Linked DNA regions of Homo sapiens: region 2 is linked to region 1. Evidence: promoter capture Hi-C in human tissues and cell types (Jung and others, 2019). All regions are on one chromosome and are shown on one strand. The core of a region is centred on a gene start or on the middle of the fragment in contact, and the rest is flanking DNA. Distances in the headings are between cores, read along the strand shown.

The links. The method cuts DNA at HindIII sites, captures the fragments that hold promoters and counts their contacts. A contact is called where the count stands out against the background at its distance.
Region 2: a fragment that was not itself captured here is called in contact with the fragment with the promoter of CDH8 in region 1 in 1 of the 25 tissues and cell types used here (neural progenitor cells).

The regions. Positions count from the first base shown.
Region 1 is chr16:62,034,264-62,039,362 of GRCh38, reverse strand. It overlaps CDH8 (cadherin 8), which reads left to right and starts at 2,925. Exons shown (of 12, transcript NM_001796.5): 1 at 2,925-3,283. It overlaps LOC124903777 (a long non-coding RNA gene), which reads right to left and starts at 2,773. Exons shown (of 2, transcript XR_007065217.1): 1 at 2,586-2,773; 2 at 1,930-2,150. RefSeq lists an enhancer at 4,623-5,099. The HindIII fragment of the contact is 11,196 bases long and covers 1-5,099 here.
Region 2 is chr16:61,994,143-61,999,241 of GRCh38, reverse strand. All of the region lies in intron 2 of CDH8 (cadherin 8), which reads left to right. Among named protein-coding and RNA genes, the nearest start is that of CDH8, 40 kb to the left of the region's middle. The HindIII fragment of the contact is 5,574 bases long and covers 1-4,830 here.

The DNA.
Region 1 (5,099 bases), core at 1,676-4,175:
GCACCATAGATATCACATTACAAGCAATCCAATAAATCTAAAGGTTACCAGTAATCATAATATGGTAAATACATTTTGTTTTTAGTTTGTTTTAATTTTTAATTCTATCTTGATGAATGAAAACGACGAAAGATTGCATTTTAACGCAGCAAATAATAGTTATGTTCCATTCTGTCATCTCCTGCTCCAACCAGAGAAGCTGGAGACTTCCTAACACTGTCTCCCTCTTCTTGAGCTCTGTTTCCTATGAACCATCTGATTCCCCACTCTGCAACTAGCTGGGCACTTGGTTTACTGTGTCCCTTGGTCAAAATTACGACAAACATTCCAGCCATAGTGAAAAAATAAAAGTGTATTTTACTACATGGAGTCCCTCTCCATCTCATTCACTCTCTACAGTAGACTCCCCTGCAAAACTGCCTGCCTGTCACCGAGACCCAGGCTAGAGACATCCTGCCTCATTCTACTTTTTGCATTAGTCAGCCAAGGTTATTCTGAATGCAATCTTCTCTCCCTCCCCCCAACTCCTTCTCCAATTATACTCCTGCCCTATCAGATAATTCCTCACCCTTCCTCCCCCGCAATGCTCCACAACACATGCAATTTCACTTGCCATTCTAAAAAGCCTATGTACCACAGTCCTCTTCCCGCTGGAAGGCTGTAACCCTGGAGAGGATGTTGAAAAGAAAACACTTTCTTAAGGGGGTAGGCTTTCACCATTGTGACATTACACTGCATCTTATTAAGAGTGGGTGGAATTGTTAAAGAGATAAATGCCTTGTCTTTCAGCATCCCTGATTATTTTAGAAATATCCTTATAGGGCTTTCTAACATTATCCTAATCCTCTATCACACTGCTTAATCATCCAAACCTCTCTTAAGAATTAGTCAGGAAATTCCTATTGTAACGCTTTGAGCAGATATTAGCAGGTATAGACAGGTTACCCTGAATTCCAGAGGACCAAAATTCAGGGAAGACAATGTATATAACTGCTGTAAGAGTAAATATGGACAAGATGAGTCAAAGCAAACTCTTCTTAACCCTAGATACCCAAAGCCATTGGATTCTGGCTCTCTTTAAAAGCCATTGGATTCTGACTATCTTTACTATGTCAGCATAGTTTGTTAAGAAAATGAGATTTGAGGATATTGTCTAACAATCTGGCTTTTTTTTTTTTTTTTGAGACAAGTTTGTTACTTGTGACAATCCCCAGCTTTCAGTAGCACATGAGTTTTTTTGAGTTTTCATAGATGTAAGAAGTTACCCCAAGGAACGGTTCAAATTATTTGTTCAAGTGAAAATGAATATCTGAAATTAAGCACAACCCAAAATGTGATCTATTTCTTTGTCCACTTGGGACTGTCTGGTCTAGCAGCAGTTATAATTTGATTGAGCCTTGACTGCTGCTCCTTTTTCCAAGACAGAATTAGCCAATTCCAATACCCTGTAAGCAGACACAGTCTGAGAAGAGAACAAACAGTTACTTAGTGACTGCCTGGGGGAAAAAAAATACCACTTGGTTCTCTTCACCTCTCCCTCTCTGAAATAATCCACTAAGTTTCTTGCCTATGACAGCTAGAACATGAAACAATCAGATATTAGAGCTACAGCCAATACTCTTTTTCACATTTCACAATGGGTTGTCAGATGCAGCACACAAAAAAATGTCAAATTTGCATAAATATCATAAGCATGTTGTGCCTATTTTCTCATTCTGTTCACTCTTTCTCATTAATTTGAGTGAGACAGTACAAGCTCTACAGACTGTGCGTCTTGTCCCCTGCACCTTTTTCCCCCTTCTGTTCTTGCTCTGTCCCCAGATGGTAAAATCCACCCTCAGGCTCACGTCTAGTGCACACAGGGAAGGGACTAAATCGGGATCTCCTGTGGAGGGGAGGGTTTTTTTTTTTAAGGTAAGAATTTATTTGTCTTATATTTATCTAATTTTATTAGAAGATGATGACTGTGGCATCGTCTACATGTTAGCCCCAGTGTTGAAAAAGAAAAGAAATCTGGACCTCCTGATTCATGGTCCCTTTTACCCCAGGGTGGCCATTTCTCAAGATCTGAGCGCAGCCCATCAGAAGACTTGAAGTGACCACAGACAGGGCAGGTCTTGGTGGAGGCAGGAGAACCGCAAGGATGGTATCTGAGAGGATATGACAAGATCAGGGCACATTGAGAAGACCTAGAAATTCCTCCCCTATTTCCCAAGCAAGTTCTGCTTTGCCTGCCCTCCTCCCCACAACCAACTACTGCGCGCCCCTCCTGGCTGCCACTCTGCTGTCCCTCATCCCATTTTCCCAAAGGAGCACGGGGACATCAGGAATGCGCTCCATCACAGAACCGCGACACACAGCCTCTACATAGCGTCTGAGTTGCAGGCAGGGGTCTCACAATCACCCTATTCTGTACGCAAGAGGCCCTTGGAATAAAGAGGAGGTAAGCTGCCCACGCTCAACCCTTTGCCCTGTCGCGTCCTCTTCCTCCTACGGAAAATAGCTGCGGGTCACTGAGACGCTTTTCAACATAACGCCAGCCCCAGAGCTCAGGTGAGACCTCTAGAGAGAAAGCTCGCAGGTACCTCATCCGCATGCTGTTATTATCTGCCAGCCCACTTATCCAGGAGCTCGGTCCTCAGCGGGCTGCGCGCACCGCGCGGAAGGGCGCATCTTCACCTCGTGGCTCTGGCGGCAGAGACGCGCGGGGCTTGCTCGGGAGCGAGGAGCGAAAAGTTGTGCGCCCACTTGGGTAGGGGGAAAGAGAGCGATCGAGCCAGCGCGGGAGAGCGAAGGGGGAAGGCGGGGAGGGGGCGGGGAGGGGGGACTGCTTACATGAATTTCCAAGTGGTAGACCTGCCTCTGCGCTCTGCCCAATGAGATCCGTCAGGGGAGGCACCCGGCTCACTTTTCCACATCACTTCACAGTTACATTTGGCAGGCAGGCGGGCTCGCACGCCGGAGCGCTCAGCCCAGAATTAGTGGATTTATTTGGAATCTCCCTGCCTCCTCCAAGCTCCGCCGCCGCCGCCGGCTTGTGCATAGACGGTAGCGTCAAGACACCAGCTGCACTTTGGGTTGCGGACACCCAGAGCCCAGCGCGCCCGCCCTGCGTCTCCGCACCAAGCCCTGTAGCTCCGAGAGGCATGAACGGAATCCGGAGGCGCCTGCCTAGCGAGCGAGGACCGGTCGGCGCTTGCCGCCCTCGGGAGCTAACCCCGAGCACCTCCAGCCATTTGTGAACCTGGAGGCTTGACATTCGCCAGCGCAGGGCCCCACAAGAGTAAGTGTTCCCCTAACCCACCCCCGTTTTCCTCTATGTTCCGACTATCCAGAAGGGACCGTTTCTTATAGGAATTCCCATGCCCCTTCGGACACCTTGCGCGCCTCCTGCCCCTCAGATGGTGGATGAGGGTTCTTAGCATAGGCTCTGGGCTAAGCTGTGTCTTTCGCGATATCCGTGGGTGATAACGTACGTACGCCTCAAGGTTTTGCCTGACTGTTTTTGCAAACTGCTTTGACAACAGATCCTAGAGAGTAGCAAGCTCCAGGCTGTGCCCCTCCAGTTTTCCTGCCGGTTTCCTTCCCTGCGGCGACTTGGCTATTTCGCCGCTTCCCAACGCAGGCAGGCGCGGCTGCAGCCGCGCGCCTTCACTGCGGGGTCCGTGCGGTGAATGGGAAGCACCTGCAGCCCGCTGTGCGGAGGGTGCAAGCCAGGGAAAAAAGGAGGCGAGGGGGCCCGAGTGGTCTATGGCTGGTTTTCTGCACCGCCTCATCTCCGAGGCGAGGGAGGGCGACCCCCGCGGCAGGGCTGCGGGCCAAGGCTCAGCTGCGAAAGCCCCAGCGCGAGGCTTTCCCACAAGTGGCAGCTCCAGCTCTGGGAGGTGCGGTGCCCGCTACAAACTTGCCGGGCTCCGGAGTCGCCCTGCGGCTCTGCCCTCGCCAAGACGCTGCCCAGCACCCCTGCAGGACCCCCAGGCAGTGTCTCCCCGCAACTCGAGATTGCGTGCACGGAGGCCCCCTTAAGCCGGGGACTCCGTAGCCGCTCTCCTAGGGACAGCTGAGCCCAGACCTGCGCTTTCTGTGGTCTGGCCGCTTCTCATCCGGGAACCTTTGAGGGGCTGGTCGCGCCCCTCGCAGGATCGGAGGGAAAAAGGCTCTTGCCTAGGTTCTGCCAGTACGTAAGAGGTTCATAAGGGACCTACTCCGGTTCTCCCAGGATCCAGCCAAGGCTGGGAAACGGTAAAAAAACGTGCTGCCGCCAACGCTGATGCCAACAGGTATCCACAATTTCCTCCGCTTATTCCTCCCAAACACCAGAGCCTTCCCCCACCCAGTCTGGCAGAATCCTCAAAGTTTCCTTGCGGTTGACCCTTCCCCCGCAGGCACGGAGCCGGCGGCATGTCAAGGACTAGCCGTTTGCCTCCACCAGCGGAGATGGCAGCTGTTTGCTTGGGTTGCTAAATGTAAGAAATCAAACCACATTAATTGTTTATTGTTGCAAACGCACAATATTAGTCCGTAATGGAAAATCGGGCTGGCAGCTGCTCACTTCAGCACCAATTAAACGATAGAGCTTATCACCAAGACAGCGGGAGGGAGGAAAGGTCCTTTCAACTTTACCACCCTTTCCTGAAGATTCCACAAGAGTTTCCTCCTTAGGAGGCATGATTCGACAATCCCTTAGCGCGCCCGAGCTGCTAATCAGATCAGCTGCTTTCTTTCACCTGGCGTCATGATATCTGGGGGCTGACAATGGGAACGAGGGGACGCTAGGGAAGGTAAGCGAGAGTACTGTCCTCTCGCATCCGGTACCATCGCAAAGCAGATCCGAGGGATGGGGGCTGGCTTTTGAAGCGCCTGTTCTCTTTACAACACTCCTGACAGCCATCTCAATGGTTAAAAACCCTCCTTGGGCTGTCACCTCAGGCTTTATTATAGGAGCTTTTCAACTGGAAAACTATATGTGGGAAAGATGTTTATGTAAGATTCGAAAGTGGGATTTTCCATCCATTCAGCCTCGCTGCTGCACCTCACTGCATGCAAAGTGAGCCCTGTCGTTCATGCTAAATACCAGTAAAATCCCTGCCTAGATATTG
Region 2 (5,099 bases), core at 794-3,293, 39 kb after region 1:
TCATCTGTAAAATATTTGGTAATCTTTATATTTTGGCTTAAATGAGGCAGTAAATACATGAGAAGTACCTAGCAGTGTCTTTCATATAGTAGGCACTTAGTGGATGAAAGCTACTCTCTTTATTATCCTTACTCTTCTGATGATTGTTTATAATCAGATAATGAAGAGGCATCACTAATCATTTAAATTCTCATCCTTCTAAAGCTGTGTATTAGTTATGTTTGCTAATGAGACTCTTGTACTTAACTGATCTTATCTGCTTTGTCATGCCCAGTATCTTAGTTTGAGCTTCCATATAATATCTATCCTTCCAATTTCTTAGATCTGAGTCCTTTTTTTCCCCTCTGTATTGATTTTATTAAATCTTTTGGCTCAGTAAGTCATTAGAATAAAATATCTAGTCTTACAGAGAAAATGATCTTTGGAATCAGCAACTCAGTTTTATTTCGAAGATCAAGAAAGTGAATGGAGGAAGCAGAGACTTGAATATCTTTTCTAGTTGACAAGTAGCTTTTTTCTGGATGACAATGCTACTACCCATCCCAGAGGTCCTTTGATCCATGGGCTAAAGTTGGGTGACTCAGCATTCTCAGTAATGCCAAACATATAGTGGGCATGACTTGTTTAATTACAAGGTGAGAGCTTAGGTACATCTCAGAGGAAGAAGCAATAAAAAGATACATTGAAGTCCATATCAGCTTTCTCTGTGTCTTGAATCAAGGGCACCTGGTGGAAGACAGTATGCTAGATCGAAGAGTCTTGGATGCAAACAGTCCTATGTTAAAATACCCAATTCTTCCACCAACTAGCCATGTGCTTTTATGCAAATAACCTGATCTCTTTGAATCTCCATTTACTCACCTGTCAAATAAGGAAAAAGACACCTGCAGATATTTGATGAAGTGCTTTAATTATTATTTACCATAGAAGACCACATTTTATTGGGATATAATTTCAAATTTACAGAAAATTTCCAACAATAACAATATATTAATAATAATACAAGAATCTCACCATATTCATCAAGTGTTTAATTTTGCTTCATTCATTTTATCATTTCCTAATTATCTTTTCATGCATATTGCATTTTTCTTCTAAACCTTTTTCCAGCAAGTTGGGGATATTTTTTTCCATTACCATAAAATACTTCAATGTATTTTCTAACCACAGAGTAATTATTATGATCTGGAAATGTAGCATTGGCACAATACTATTATTCTATCCATAATTCATAAAAATTTTGTCAGTTATTCTAAAATTGCTGTTTATAGATATTTGTATTTCTTGGTACAGGTCAAGATGACTTACTGCATTTAATTGTCATATCTTTTTAGTTTCCTTTTATTGGAACAATTTCACAGACTTTCTTGAAATTTGTATTTTTGGAGTTTATATGCCAGTTATTTTGTGGAACATTTTTAGATTTTTGCATCTGATATTCCCTTGTGAGTACTACAAGTTAGGCGTTTTTAACAAAAACCCTGTAGAAGTGATGCGGTTTTCTAAGGGCACCATATCACAAGTTACGTGAGGTTGGTTTATCTCAATATTGATGATGCTAACTTTGCTTACCTGGTTGAGATGGTGTCTGTCAGGGCTTTCTTCTGCAAAGCTACTATTTTCCCTTTTGTTATTAATAAGTAATTTGTGGGGAGATACTTTCTGACAATTCTATTTCTCATTAGACTTTCATCCAATAGTTTTAGCATTAATTCGTGATTTTAAAAAATCTCCATATTCCTTCTATATTTATTAACTGGCATTCTACTGTAAGGAAGTCCATGATCATTTCACAGTTGTTTTTCTGGAAGGATAAAAATATGGTAGGAGCAAGAGAAAATATAGGAGTATAAGAGTCAGTGTATAGACTTTAAGGGCCTAGATAAACAACTAGTATATGGGATCTCTTCGATGGCATGTGCAAAATGATACAGGCAGGGCTTCAAAGAAATATGCATTACGTTCTTTTCTCAATAGAACATCTTTATTTTATTTCAAACAGTGTACCATAAGGCAGGATTGCGGAATATTGTGAGAATTCCTGGCACATCAGCAAAGTGGACTCTGAGAGACTTTAAGTTAAGGTGGCTTGGAAATAACATTAAAATTATGACTTTATGACTTTTTTAGAGAAAATCTGAATCTTAGGATAAAGGAGAAGAATTATTCTTTTTTAAAAAAACACTCCTCAGAAAAGGATTATACTTAAACACACACATACACACACACACACACACACATACACACAATATTCTGTGGTCATGAAATACTTGTTTGAAGTGTATTAACCTCATATATGAAAGAAAACAAAATGCTAAACTACTCAATATTTCAGGACTGTTTAAATTGTAGACCTGGGCCAGGCATGGTGTTTCATGCCTGTAATCCCAGCGCTTTGAGAGGCTGAGTGAGGTCGGAGTATTGCTTGAGCCCGGGAGTTCGAGACCAGCTTTGGCAATGTAGCAAGTCCCTCACCTCTACAAAAAATAAATATAAATGAATAAATAAATTGTAGACCTAATCAGAGATGTAATAAACTATCCTGATTGATATAATATAATTTAATTTGTGTTTTGAAAATCATTTTATTAATTGAATTACCACTGAACCATGGGTTTAGGTAAAAATGTCTTTTTCTTGGTGACCATCTTATCTAGGTCCCTGTTTTTGCAAAAACTTCAGAATTTAGAATGAAAGCTGCCGTAGCTTTATGGAATGTCAATATTATACGATTACATATATTCTCAAATAAAACCTATTGTTGATGAGCACCTTTAAATGTGATGAGTTAGTACATTAATGCTCTTTTAAGAAGGGAAAATGCCAGAGCATGAATTTGCTTCACCTGGTTAGAGGTTGGGAATAATTTTTAGTTGCATTCATTCTCCGAGGAGGGCAGAATTTGTCCCCATGTGCAGAGTTTGCCATTCCCTGCAATGACGGTGTCAAGACTGTGTTGCTCAATTACAAGGCATGATTCTTTCATCCTGGACTTAACCTCAGCCTTGATGCTGTTATTTTTAATCTGTGCTTCAGGGGATTGGGTTGGATGACCTGTCAGGTCTCTTCTAGTTCAGATATTCTAAGCTACGAAATAGAAGAGGCACTAGTAAACATTTCCACTGGCCTTGAGTTTTGATGAATTTATCTGCAAGGATGAATTAGGTTTATTCTTCTTTGTCTGGAGGCGAAGGAGACATATGTCTTTAAAGCTGCCTAACCGGACTATCTTTTCAGCATGATTTAAAAACACAGGAAACTTTCACATAGGATTAGGATCAGTATGAGCCATCTGAAGATTTCATACATTCTTGTAGGAGGAAAGTGGTTCAGAAGACCAAGAGTGGATGGATTATATCTACTGAGTTGGGCAGGTGAGATGTAAGCTTGTGAAGTTGAAAGCAATTTTTCCTTCATCCTTTTAATAAAAATGTATGTTACTTTTAATTATACAGTAATGAGAAAACATTATTACATATGATTATAGGCACTTGGTCTGCCTAATGGAATCTGTTCTGTTCTAATTCATCCGAGTAAAGAATAAGACACATAAAAAGTAAAAGTAGGCCGGGAGCCATGGCTCACGCCTGTAATCCCAGCACTTTGGGAGGCCAAGGCAGGCAGATCACAAGATTAGGAGACTGAGACCATCCTGGCTAACACGGTGAAACTCTGTCTCTACTAAAAATACAAAAAATTAGCCGGGCATTGTGACACATGCCTGTAGTCCCAGCTACTCGGGAGGCTGAGGCAGGAGAATCGCTTGAACCTGGGAGGCTGAGGTTGCAGTGAGCCGAGATCGTGCCACTGCACTCCAGCCTGGGTGACAGAATGAGACTCCATCTCAAAAAAAAAAGTGAAAGTAACAGCAAACATGCCTGCTCCCCAGACAGGCCGATCTATTGCTTTAGAATCTGAGAATTAGATGATCTTTTGTGCAAAACAGTAATTGTTTTTAGTAGCCTCTAAACAATTTGTTTTGTGTTTCCTTCCTTCTTTATTATAGCTTTGGGTCAGTCCAGTCCTGAGATGTTGTCTAATTTATAATCTTCTATCACAAGAAATAATTTCTATGTCTTATAAAAGAGAATGTTTTCATTGTATGTATACTAGGACTGTTCTCTCTTTAATAAAATTTTACCTGCGAGTACCTTGGCTAGGAACAAGACAGCTAGCATGATTTCACACAAGTAATCACCTGTTTGCAATTTGGTTCATTTTTCTTAATCTCCCCGGGACTTAGAGTTAACTTTCAGGCAGGTTTGTTAGCAGAAACTAAGTATTGTGGGACACAGTTATAACTTCAATAAAATTGTACAAGGAAACATGAACAGCAGTGGTGATATTTTGCTGTTTTTCCTGATAAGTGATTCTAACGTGAAGAGCAAAAATATTTGCAGGGGGATTGAGAAACAAGAATTGAGAAATATGTTCTCTTGCAGTGGTTCTGAAAGCGCAGTAAGCATCAGAATCATGTAGGAGGATTTGTTAAAGCAGGTACAGTGGGCCTGACTTCAGAGTTTCTGATTCAGTACCTCTGTGGTGGGACAGAATTTGTGTTTCTGACAGGTCCCCACGCAATGCTGACAATGCTGGTCTGAAGACCACACTTTTAGTACCAGTGATCTAACATATCCTCCAAATAGTTTTATTTTGGTAGCTGTTGTGTGTAGCAGAGAGAACATCAGATGAGAGTCATAAAGCTTTTTACATTCAATTAGTCATTCGACAAATTTTCCTTGGCCTGTAATAGGTAAATTATGTGCTACGTTCTTCAATACAGAGATTAATAGGGCCCATTCCTCATGTCTAAGGAAATTTACACTCAATTAGAGGAGACAATCAAGGGAATCCACAATCTCAATACAGTTCAATTAGCAATATAATGGTTGTTGTGCAGACTTAATGGTAGTAGTGCCTGACTCAATTTACACCTGGAACCTGCCATCAAAGTAAGCTTTTTAGAAGCAAAATTTAAAATGAATTCTGAATACAATATGGGATTTATTACACTGGAGGACATATCTCAAGAGGAAAGGGTAAGAGTGAATGGCACAAATGAGGGGAACAAGAATGCAATTTAAAAATGGCAAACAGTT